Linked DNA regions of Homo sapiens: all the other regions are linked to region 2. The links are contacts of gene promoters, found by promoter capture Hi-C in human tissues and cell types (Jung and others, 2019). All regions are on one chromosome and are shown on one strand. The core of a region is centred on a gene start or on the middle of the fragment in contact, and the rest is flanking DNA. Distances in the headings are between cores, read along the strand shown. Region 1 overlaps MMP24-AS1-EDEM2 (MMP24-AS1-EDEM2 readthrough). Region 2 holds the start of GSS (glutathione synthetase). Region 3 has its middle 5.3 kb from the start of MIR1289-1.

Region 1 (3,990 bases), core at 1,077-3,576, 260 kb before region 2:
TGGCTATGAGCTAGGATAATTCCTCCATAATAAGAGGAAAGAACAGGACTTTTAGCAGTACAAATCTGGTACCAGTGTGGAGAAGAGCTTAAAGGGAGAACTTGCATTTGTTGGTTACTTACTTTTTGTCTAGCATTGTTAGATGCTTTCCTCACAAGAGTTCTTTTTTATTTTTACTTGTATTTTTATTTTTTTCCAATCATATTCTTTCTAATTATTTTTATTTTTTTAGAGACAGGATCTCACTCTGTCACCCAGGCTGGAGTGCACTGGCATGATCATAGCTCACTGCAACCTCAAACTCCTGGGCTCGAGCGATCCTCCCACCTCAGTCTCCTGAGTAGCTATGACTACGGGTACGTGTCATCATGCCTGACTAATTTTAATTTTTTTTTTAAAATGGAGGTCTCACTATGTTGGCCATCCATGGCCAATATAACAGCCATGTAACAGTCACCGTGCCTGACTGCAGCAGTTCTCAATGTATGAGGAAAATGGGTTGTGACACTGTTGTAATGAGGCAAGAAAAGTTAAGAACTGAACTCAAGCTGCTGAAGATCCAAGATACTGTGCTCTTTATGCTCTGCAAAACTCCCCCACCCTTGCCCCTACCCCCACCAAATTGCATTGGCCTCTCACTGCAGATGTCAGGATGCCATCCATTTGGATAGGAAGAAACTGACACATTGGCTCAACCATAGGGTAGAGTTGCTTGTTTCTTATAAAGGAAAGAAAGATTTGAGTGGTCGTAAGAATCTGCAGTACTAGGCAGCTCTTGGTGCTGGAGGGCCTTCGCCCTGAAGCCAGGCAAATTTACCCAAAAGATAAAGACATAAAAAGAAAATGCAGGAACAAGGAAGAGTGACATTCTTTATTTTTTATTTTGTTTTATTTATTTATTTATTTGAGACAGAGTTTCGCTCTTGTAGCCCAGGCTGGAGTGCAATGGTGTGATCTCGGCTCACCGCAACCCCTGCCTCCCGGGTTCAAGTGATTCTCCTGCCTCAGCCTCCCGAGTAGCTGGGATTACAGACATGCACCACCACGCCTGGCTAATTTTGTATTTTTAGTAGAGACGGGGTTTTTCCATGTTGGTCATGCTGGTCTCGAACTCCCAACCTCAAGTGATCCTCCTGCCTCGGCCTCCCAAAGTGCTGGGATTACAGGAGTGAGCCACTGCGCCCGGCCAGAGTGACATTCTTAGTAGAGATCTGAAAGGAAATATAAATGAGAGGGTGGCTGGAGAGCACAGTCCAGCTTAGGAAGTCTCCTTGACCTCTCTCCTCCTTCCTCTGAATTCCTATTTCAGCAGCTAACAGTCAATGAAAAGCAATTTACCTACATCAAATCACTTAATCCTCACCACTGTCCTGTGAAGTGGATTCTAAGGAAAGGGTGAGAGAAGTGACCTACCCCACGACACACCTAAAAAACAGCAAAACCAGGAGTAGAACCCAAGTGTCTGACACTAAATTCATGTCCTTAACCCTTGGTGCCTTTGTTCATTCATTAATTACCTCAAAAATTCTGTAAACATTACTCAGAAGCCACTCTGTGGAAGGTACTGGGGCAAGTGAGGCCGTCTTCAGGTTAAAAAAAAAAAAAAGATAAGACTTGTGCACATAAAAGGCGTGACAAATAACCACAAAACATTACACCATTCTATAGGATTTCAGAGGGGAGTGAGGTCACTCTGGCTGGGGATATCAGGGAGATCAAGGAAGGTTTCCAAAAGGAAGTAGCATTTGAGATGAGTCTATATAAACTGGTAATATTTTAAAAGCTAATAGTTTTATATGCAATATACACAGAACATTACCACACACGTGTTCAAAAGTTACAAGCAATGGAAGACTGTGTGAAGTTTTAATTGGCAGAAAATGGAGGGTAAAAGGCCGGGCGCTGTGGCTCACGCCCGTAATCCCAGCACCTTTGGGAGGCTGAGGCGGGTGGATCACTTGAGGTCAGGAGTTTGAGACCAGCCTGACCAACATGGGTGAAACCCCGTTTCTACTAAAAACACAAAAAAATTAGCCTGGCTTGGTGGCGCGTGCCTGTAATCCCAGCTACTCAGGAGGCCGAGGCAGGAGAATCTCTTGAACCCAGGAGACAGAGGTTGCAGTGAGCTGAGATGGTGCCACTGCACTTCAGCCTGGGCTACAGAGTGAGACTCCATCTCAAAAAAAAAAAAAAAAAGAAAAAGAAAATGGGAGGTAAAGGCCTGGAGGAAGGAAAAGGTCTGATTGTTCAGGATCTAGAGAAGGTCCCAGTCCAATCCCCCGACTCAGTCTCAATGTCCAGCCCCAAATGACTTGAGAGTATTTCTTACTCAGGTTTCTCCCTTAAAAGCATATTCAAACCAATGCATACAATGGGACACTATGCAGCCTTTTGTAATTTTTTTTTTTTTTTTTTGAGATGGAGTTTCGCTCTGTCGCCCAGGCTGGAGTGCAGTGGCGCGATCTCGGCTCACTGCAACCTCCACCTCCTGGGTTCAAGCAATTCTCCTGCCTCAGCCTCCCGAGTAGCTGGGATTACAGGCGCCCACCACCACGCCTAGCTAATTTTTTTGTATTTTTTTAGTAGAGGCAGGGTTTCACCGTGATAGCCAGGATGGTCTCGATCTCCTGACCTTGTGATCCACCCGCCTTGGACTCCCAAAGTGCTGGGATTACAGGCGTGAGCCACCGCGCCCGGCCCAATGCAGCCATTTTTTAAAATGAGGAAGTACTTACGAATTTATGAATAATTAGGACATTATTTCCAAAATGTAATGTTAAGTGGTAAAAAAAAGGCAAAGGTGCAGAATCCTGGATATTGTAGGCTACTATTTGTGTAATAATCGGAAAAAAGAATACATGTGTGTGCATGCACTTGCTCATTTACACATAAAATAGGGACAGATACCCAAGGAACTGATAATAGTGCTTACTTCCTGGAGGGAAGCTTAAGTGGTTTGAGGACAGGGTGGGAAGGCAATTTTTATTTTTATTTTTTAATTTTTTTTAATTATTTTATTTTATTTTTTTGAGATGGAGTCACGCTCTGTTACCCAGGCTGGAGTGCAGTGGCACAGTCTCGGCTCACCGAAACCTCTGCCTCCTGGGTTGGAGCAATTCTCTTGCCTCAGCCTCCGAAGTAGCTAGAACTACAGGCAAACACCACAAAGCCCAGCTATTTTTTATATTTTTAGTAGAGACAGTGTTTCACCATGTTGGGCAGGCTGGTCTCGAACTCCTGGCCTCATGTGATCCGCCTGCCTTGGCCTCCCAAAAGTGCTGGGATTACAGGTGGGAGCCACCATGCCTGGCTGGAAGGAGATTTTTCTCACTGTATACCTTTTTGTATCTTTTGACTTTTTAATCATGTGGATATATTATCTCTTCAAAAAATAAGTACAAGCTGAGCATTTTTTCCCTTTAATATTGTATGTTCTCCAAATGAACAAGCTGAGCTTCTAAAAAAATAAGTGTAATAGTCTCTAAAGGCCACTCCCTGAAAAGAGGGCTTATATTGCAAAATACTGGTATACAGTGAAAGCAGTAACAGTTCACTTAGGTTTCAAAAATTCAGGCCTTCATCTGCATGGCCAAAAAAAAAGCAGAAATAAAGCAACAAACTATAAACTAGGTAAAATATTTATTATTATTTTTTTAACGTAAAACAGCTGTTATAAACCAATAAGAAAAAGACCTATGACCCAATTCAATAATGGCGAAGGACTAAATGGGCTTCATGCAAACAGAAATATAAATGGACTCTTTTTTTTTTTTGAGACAGTCTCGCTCCGTTACCCAGGATGGAGTGCAGTGGCACGATCTTAACTCACTGCAACCTCTGCTTCCTTGGTTCAAGCGATTCTCATGTCTCAGCCTCCCAAGTAGCTGGGACTACAGGCACATGCCACCATACCTGACTAATTTTTTTGTGTTTTTTGTAGAGACGCGGTTTTGCCGTGTTGGCCAGGCTGATCTGGAACTCTTGGCCTCA
Region 2 (4,090 bases), core at 127-2,626:
AAGCGCCTAAGTCCTGTTGCAACCCTCAGGCCCTTCCTCATTATCCACACCAAACTCCTCAGTGTCTGTAAAACAAGCCGAGCAACCCTCAGAATTATATGCCTTCGCTGCTCGTTTGTTTTGTTTTTAGGACAGGGTCTCACGCTGTCACCCAGGCAGGAGTGCTGCAGCGTGATCTCAGCTCACAGCAGCCTCCGTCTCCGGGGCTCAAGAATTCTCACGCCGCAGCCTCCCGAGTAGCTGGGATTACAGGCACGGGCCAACACACCCGGCTAATTCTTGTATTTCTAGTAGAGACGGGGTTTCGCCATGTTGCCCAGCCTGGTCTCCAACTCCTGAGCTCAAGTAATCCACCTGCCTCGGCCTCTCAAAGTGCTGGGATTACAGGTCTGAGCCACTGCACCCAGCCAGCCTTTGCTGCTTTTGTTCCTGCAATTTGGAACACTGTCCCCATCCCAGCCTCTCACCTCTACCCCTACCTCCTTCACTACCTATACCTTCCTATCCATCCTTCAAGACCCCAAAAACCATCCCTGATTCCTTCAGAAAGGCAGTTTATTGCCTATCTTATCAGACTGAAAGCAGTGGCTGTGTCTTATTTATGGTTAATTCCCTAGAAGCTGGACTGATACATTCCATTTAACTAAAATTCGTATCAGGTGCTTCGGACTGCAGACAAGCCTATCACAACCCAGAAGGAAGAAACAGGGAAGGCACCTGGGGGCTGCCAAGCAATGAGGTGGGGGGTAGGAATCATGAATCCGCATATTTTTAAAAACTGCCCCAGATCCTGATGTAAACGGTACAAGAGAGTCTGAGAAACACAGGGCTCCCCTCAAACAGTCCTGACTTCAGCATTCCTGGAAAAATGAAAATCCTTTCCTTTTGCCTCTAATGCTTTCCCTGCTGGTATCCCAGGTTAAAAAAAAATAGATAAAATCAGGGGGATTTTTCTGGGACTTGGCTGGGCTGGGAAACAAGCCTGGGTTCTAATACAGGCTCAGCCCCTGACGTACTATGGGCCCCTGCCCCTCCTTGGGGCCTCCATTACCACGGCCACCCCCACCCTTATCAATTGTGTGCCCCTGAGGTAGTGACTGTCCCGCTCTGAGCATTAGTTTCCCCATCTTCCACTAGTCGTCGTCAGCTCTGACGCTCTATGAGCTATGCATACCCGTAGCTCCCCGCCGACCCCGATGGTCCCCTCCCCTCCTTCCCAAGGTCCATCCGCCAGGGTGCAGCCGACGCACTCCTAATGCTAAGGCCGCCCTCTCATCGACCGCCCCTTCCTGGCCTCGACTCAGCGCCAAAGGTATGGGTCTCTGCCCCGCCTGCTCTTTAAGCCTAGCCGGGGCGGTCAGCGCAAGCGCACTGGGTCGCATCGAGGCCCCGCCCCCTGAGCCTGGGTAGCGGCGCGAGGGCCGGGAGAACCGTTCGCGGAGGAAAGGCGAACTAGTAGGTTGGGGCGGCCACGGCGGCCGGCATGGGTCACGTTTCCTCGGGAGGAACGATGTGAGGGAGGGGTCTGGCAAGAGATTGGAATTCCGGAGGCCGGGAGACCTTGTGGCTGAAACCCTTCGTAGGAGCGGGGCAACTAGTGTCTAGTGAGGGGGTTGGGCTGGCGCGCACTGATCCCAGACTTTCCGGATCTTCTGCCTTTAGATCGGGCCGGTGTCGGGGCATGTAGGCCAGTGAGACTGGAGCCAGTTAGAGCTACAACGGGGAGCGATTAGGGCCAAACTTTGTCCAGGGTGGAAGCGAGCGGGCCCGTGAAGTGGGGCCAGCCTGGGCAGCCGACCGTGTCGTTGCCTCGGGGCCTTTCCAGGCACTGGCCTAAGTCCTGGCGATAAAGTGCGACCGATTTCCTTGTGGGCGTTTTGAGGCTTTCGGTGATCTGACCCGTCTGTCATTCATTCTTCATTCATTCATGTGATGAATGAATACAGTACTAAGCGCGGCTAATTACTAGGTAGAGAAGTGATCAAGACAAACACTGTTCCTACGGTACAGGGAAAAGTGATGGGCTGTAGAATGTAGAAGCCCGGGGCGGAGAACAGGGACAGCTTCCGGAACGAAATCGCGAGCCCAGATCAGGAGTGGTGGCGAGAGTTCCAAAGAGAAGACAGCACGTGCCAAGTCCTGGAAGGGGGACAGAGGCCAACATATCCTGGTCACTGAAGACACCTGACTCTGAATCTGTTTCACGCCCAGGGAAGAGATGACAGTGGCCGGGGCTAGGCTACAAACTCTGGAAATGGAGATAAATAAAGGAATTCAAAGTACTATATACTTAGGCAGCAAAATCCATAGGATTTGGGGAGAGTGAGATGTAGGAAACAAGTACTCAAGGCTTGGGTACCTGGGTGGGGTTCATCAGAGAAGAAGCAGATTTGTGGGAGACAACAACAAATTCTATTCTGGTTGTATGGAGACTCGCAGGAAAAAATTGGATATTCTAGTTTGAAGGTAGGAAAGTATTGCTGTGAAGATGTAGATTTGAATGTCATCAGCAAAACATAAATAAAGCCAAGGGAGGGTTGAGGCTGTAGAATGAGAAAAACAAAGGGCCCACTTAGCACCTTCATCTGATTTCTTTTCTTTCTTTCTTTTTTTCTTTTTTTTTTTTTTTGACAGAGCTTTGCTCTTGTTGCCCAGGCTGGAGTGCAATGGCACGATCTCGGCTCACTACAACCTCCACCTCCTGGGTTCAAGCTATTCTCCTGCCTCAGCCTCCCAAGTAGCTCGGATTACAGGCATGCGCCACCAGGCCCGGCTAATTTTGTATTTTTAGTAGAGATGGGGTTTCTCCATGTTGGTGAGGCTGGTCTCGAACTCCCGACCTCGGGTGATCCGCCTGCCTCGGCCTCACAAAGTGCTGGGATTACACGAGTGAGCCACCACACCTGGCCCATGGTGATTATCTTTATGTCTTATCCTCCTCCATATCCCCAGTACCTAGTCAAGGGAGTGGCATTAAATGCAAATCAGTGTTTGCCAACTAAATAAAAGCCCAACAGCAAACAGATGTTGGAATTTCAGAGTTGTGGAACGATGGGGGCTCATGGAGGGTTTCATTACTCTAATGTCAAGGTAATGGGTTCTTGTCCTGGCTCTGCCACTAGGCTTCTGTGTGACCTCTGACAAGTCTCCTCCTACCTATAAAGAGAGTACAGCCAAAAAATGGTCTCATGTATAGAGCTTCAAACACTGCTGATAAATTTCACACTGATTTTTCTCTTTTAATCCACACAGCAATCTTACTTGAAAGGGAAGTCGGCTGGGCGGGGTGGCTCACGCCTGTAATCCCAGCACTTTGGGAGGCCGAGAGTGGGGGATCACGAGATCGAGACCATCCTGGCTAACACGGTGAAACCCCGTCTCTACTAAAAATACAAAAAATTAGCCGGGCATGGTGGCAGGTGCCTGTAGTCCCAGCTACTCGGGAGGCTGAGGCAGGAGAATGGCATGAACCCAGGAGGCGGAGCTTGCAGTGAGCCGAGATCGTGCGGCTGCACTCCAGCCTGGGCGACAGAGCCAGACTCCGTCAAAAAAAAAAAAAAAGAAAGAAAGAGGGAGGGAGAGAGAGAGAAAGAAAGAAAAAGAAGGAAGGAAGGAAGGAAAGAAGGAGGGAAGGGAAAGGGAAAGGGAAAAGGAAGGAAGGAAAGAAGGGAAAGGGAGAAGTCGTATTATTATGGACTCAAACCCAGGTCTGTCTGTCTGTCTGACTTGAACCTTGTTCTTTACTATGATTGCCCTCATGTATGTCTCACTCAACAGGGATATTATCAGGACCCTCTTGAGATCACATGCGCATTCTTTCAAAGCATTGTGCTGAGGCTGGCAGACTTTCATAATTGGCCTGGCACTGGCTCTGTCATGGGGACAGGGGGACAGAGCTGAATGTGATGGAGGTTTCCTATTATTCTCTAACTCCCTTCCTGGGGACCACTGAGTTGGGCAACCATGTTCTGTTAAATGGCAACAGGGCAGAACAAAATTAGTGACTGTGTTTCCAGATTTTTACCCAGATCTTAAACTCCTGAGGCCTGCTGAAAAATGAATGAGTATCAGGGTGTGAGTTTGTACACCT
Region 3 (3,884 bases), core at 124-2,623, 490 kb before region 2:
ACAAGCCTGCTGACTATTAGGTCCTGTTCAGTAGGGCTTCCTGGAGGTATAAAGGGACCCCAGGAACAAGAAGCTAGACAAATGGCCATTAATAGATGCCTTTGCTAAGGGAACTGCAGGAGAGGGGCCAGTAGGGAACCCCTGAAGAGTGTATAAAAGCACCCCATGATGCTTTGATGATGGATAGAGATGGCTATAAACATCTGCGAGGCCCAGAAAGCACTAAGCCAGCTATTACACTGGTTCAAAGAAGACTTTTCCCACCCCCATCTTCCTCTCCATGTTAACATGGAGACATGTTGAGTGACTAAAGTGAGCTGAGGATGACAGAGAGGGAAAAATAGAGGGAAAAAAAGTCAACCACTTTCCTCTTTCTTTCTCACTGCAAGGTAACAGTCTGGAGCACCAAAACGATAGTCTCTTGCTGCTGTTCCTCTGAGTCCATTCTTTTTTTTTTTTTTTACAGAGTCTCACTTTGTAGCCCAGGCTGGAGTGCAGTGGCACGATCTTGGCTCATTGCAACCTCCGCCTCCTGGGTTCAAGTGATCCTCGTGCCTCAGCCTCCTGAGAAGCTGGGATTACAGGCGCCCACCACCACCACACCCAGCTTTTTTTTTTTTTTTCAGTAGAGATGGGGTTTCACCATGTTAGCGAGGCTGGTCTTGAATTCCTGACCTCAAGTGATCCGCCCACCTCGGCTTCCCAAAGTGCTGGGATTACAGGCGTGAGCCGCGACGCCCGGCCCATTCTCTCTCTCTCTCTTTTTTTTTTTTTAAGAGACAGGGTTTTGCTCTTTCACTCAGGTTGGAGTGCAGTGATTTGATCATAGCTCACTGCAGCTTCAATCTCCTGGGCTCAAGCGATCCTCCTGGCTCAGCCTCCCGAGTAGCTAAGACTATAGGCCTGTGCCACCAGTCCTGGCTAATTTGTTTAAAAATTTTTTTGTAGAGATGGGGACTCACTGTGTTGTCCAGGTTGGTCTTGAATTCCTGGCATCAAGCAATGTTCCTACTTTAGCCTCCCAAAGTGCTGGGATTATAGGCTTGAGCTGCCGCGCTGAAGTTCCATTCATTCATTATTTTTAAAATATTGATTGAGCACCTACTGTGTGCCAAAAGTTGAGTTATGCACTGGGAGGGACCCAAAGAACAATAATAAATGAACTCTGTCCAGAGCCTCTGTTCACAAACTCACATGGCAGGCAAGCAAGTAAAGAAATAGTTCACACACACACAGTGTAGTAAATTCTATAAAGAGGGAGCAGCTGGCTACACAGCATCAGGCCACTATGACTTGTTTGTGAAGGATAAAAACGCTAAAATTAGCCAGGTGTGGTGGTGCACTACTGTAGTCCCAACTATTCTGGAGGCTGAGGTAGGAAGGATCGCTTGAGCCCAGGAGGTTGAGGCTGCAGTGAGCTGTGTTCAAGCCACTGCACTCCAACCTGGGCAACACAGCAAGACCCTGTCTCAAAAAAAAAAAATGCTAAGCAGACAAGCCAGGCATGGTGGCATGTGGCTGTAGTCCCACCCACTCAAGAGGCTGAGTCAGAAGAACCTCTTGAGCTTAGGAGTTTGAGACCAGCCTGGGCAGCATAGCAAGACCCCATCTCAAAAAAAAATGCTAAGCAAAGTGGCAGGGGTGGGGTGGTGGCGGGGATTCCAAGCAGCATGTGCAAAGGCACAGCAGCATGCTAGAGCATGGGATGTGTTAGGAATGCCGGACACTCCTCTTGCTGATGCCACCATCTGGTTGAATTGTGTCAATCTCCCTAGTTGGATTCCCTTTGTCAGCTGGATATTTTCTCCCTGGTCCTGACCCCGCCTCAGTAGGCAGTTCTTATTCCAGTCCTAGCCCCCTCTCACTCACTAAGTCAGGCTCGAAGTGACCAGCGTACCCAAGCTTGAGATTCTTGAAGTGGATGACATCTTTTCACTATCACTCAGGGCTTGGGCAATAAAGGATGTCCAGTCACAGTTCCCACAGGACCAGGTCCTCTCCTTCCTCAAAAATGGGCCCTTGGTCAGGCCTGATGGCTCATGCCTGTAATCCCAGCACTTTGGGAGGTGGAGGCAAGTGGATCGCTTGAAGCCAGAAGTTTGAGACCAGCCTGGCCAACATGGCGAAACCCTGTCTCTACTAAAAATACACAAATTAGCCGGGCCTGGTGTCGTGCACCTGTGATCCCAGCTGCTCGGAAGGCTGAGGCACAAGAATCGCTTGAACCTGTGAGGAGGAGGTTACAGTGAGCCAAGATTGCTCCACTGCACTCCAGCCTGGGTGACAGAGTGAGACAAAAAAAAAAAAAAAAAAAAAGTCGGGGGGGCCCTTAACTATATATATATATATATTTTTTTTTTTTTTTTTGAAAAAAACAAAAAGTCCCGTAGCCAGGACTACAGATGTGCACCACCGCGTCCAGCTTGCCTTATGTTCTTGAGCAACCCTCTTTCCCTTTCTGAGCCTCAAATTCCTCAGCTGCAATATGGGGATAACAGTACTTACCAGCTAGGGTTCTTATACACAAAGTGGGAATTAGAATTAGATGGAGGGAAGGAGGAGTGGAGGAGTCCAGCAAGGATCTGAGATTTCTGAGCTCAAGAATGACAACAAGGTTTCCAGTGATTAGAGAGGTTTCCTGTGATTAGAGAGATTGGGGTGTGAGGGGAGAGGGGAACTTTCTCTTTTAACTTTATAAACTTTGGTATTATTTGAATATTTTTACAATGAACATGATTTAATTTTATAATCAAATATATTTGGTATGAATATCATGCATCGATAAAAAGGTGTTTAAATTTTTTTTTTATTTTATAGAGACGGGCTTGTGCCATGTTGCTCAGACTGATCTCCAACTCCTGGGCTCAGGCAGTTTTCCCGCCTCAGCCTCCCAAAGTGCTGGGATTACAGGCATGAGCCACCGTGCCCTGCCTAATAAAGTTTTTAAAAAGCTGATGTTACTATATTGTGTGGAAAGTCATCTAGGAGACTGATCAGAGTTGTTGCTTCTGGGGAGGACTGAAAGACCCAGGGTCTGGGGTGGGAGGAAAATATTTTCTTTTGCATTCTTTTCTACTGTTTGAATTTTTAAAATCATGAATTCATATTACTTTTCTTCCTAATATGTATGACTTTTTATAAGTTTTAGAATTATTTTAAAAATAAAAATATTTTCTAGAATAAATATGTAAAACATGTGGTTATTTTATTCACACCCCTCTACCCACAACAGACAGACACACGCAACACTCACATACAATTTCCAGCTTCAGATTGTAGTACAGGTATTTGCAGCCCAGGGAAGGAATTTGATTGACTTATGGACAGAAGGCCCAGAGACACTCAACTCTAGCAAGGTGCAGCTCCCGAGTATCCCAGCAGGGGGAGCCCTTGAGAGCGCGTCCTGAGCAGTGGCCACTGCTGCGGAGTCTAGAAAAGAAACCAGGTTTTCATTGTTAAATTCCCACCTATGAGTGAGAACACGCGGGAATTGAACAATAAGAACACTTGGACACAGGAAGGGGAACATCACACACCGGGGCCTGTTGTGAGGTGGGGGGAGGGGGAAGGGGTAGCATTAGGAGATATACCTAATGTAAATGACGAGTTAATGGGTGCAGCATACCAACGTGGCACACGTATACATATGTAACAAACCTTCACATTGTGCACATGTACCCTAGAACTTAAAGTATAATAAAAAAATTTTAAAAAAACATATGTAACAAACCTGCATGCTGTGCACATGTACCCTAGAACTTAAAGTATAATAATAATAAAAAAGAAAAGAAAAGAAACCAGGTTTGCGGCGCGGGTGAGTGTAGGCAGAGGCGGCTCTGCTCTTGCTGGGATTCTCGGGTTGGGACAGGCAGTCCCCACAGATT

What was found. Contacts are between HindIII fragments. The study calls those that stand out against the background at their distance.
Region 1: a contact is called between a fragment that was not itself captured here and the fragment with the promoter of GSS in region 2, in 1 of the 25 tissues and cell types used here (hippocampus).
Region 3: a contact is called between a fragment that was not itself captured here and the fragment with the promoter of GSS in region 2, in 2 of the 25 tissues and cell types used here (bladder and dorsolateral prefrontal cortex).

What each region holds. Positions count from the first base shown.
Region 1 is chr20:35,213,114-35,217,103 of GRCh38, reverse strand. The region is part of intron 4 of MMP24-AS1-EDEM2 (MMP24-AS1-EDEM2 readthrough); the gene reads left to right. It also overlaps a transcript of PROCR not described here. Among named protein-coding and RNA genes, the nearest start is that of MMP24, 12 kb to the left of the region's middle. RefSeq lists an enhancer at 545-1,044. The HindIII fragment of the contact is 7,963 bases long and covers 1-3,990 here.
Region 2 is chr20:34,953,092-34,957,181 of GRCh38, reverse strand. GSS (glutathione synthetase) reads left to right here and starts at 1,376. Exons shown (of 13, transcript NM_000178.4): 1 at 1,376-1,455. It overlaps MYH7B (myosin heavy chain 7B), which reads right to left and starts at 1,314. Exons shown (of 45, transcript NM_020884.7): 1 at 1,175-1,314. RefSeq lists enhancers at 1,049-1,228, 1,469-1,568. The HindIII fragment of the contact is 12,827 bases long and covers 1-4,090 here.
Region 3 is chr20:35,446,881-35,450,764 of GRCh38, reverse strand. It overlaps a transcript of GDF5 not described here. Among named protein-coding and RNA genes, the nearest start is that of MIR1289-1, 5.3 kb to the left of the region's middle. The HindIII fragment of the contact is 8,774 bases long and covers 1-3,884 here.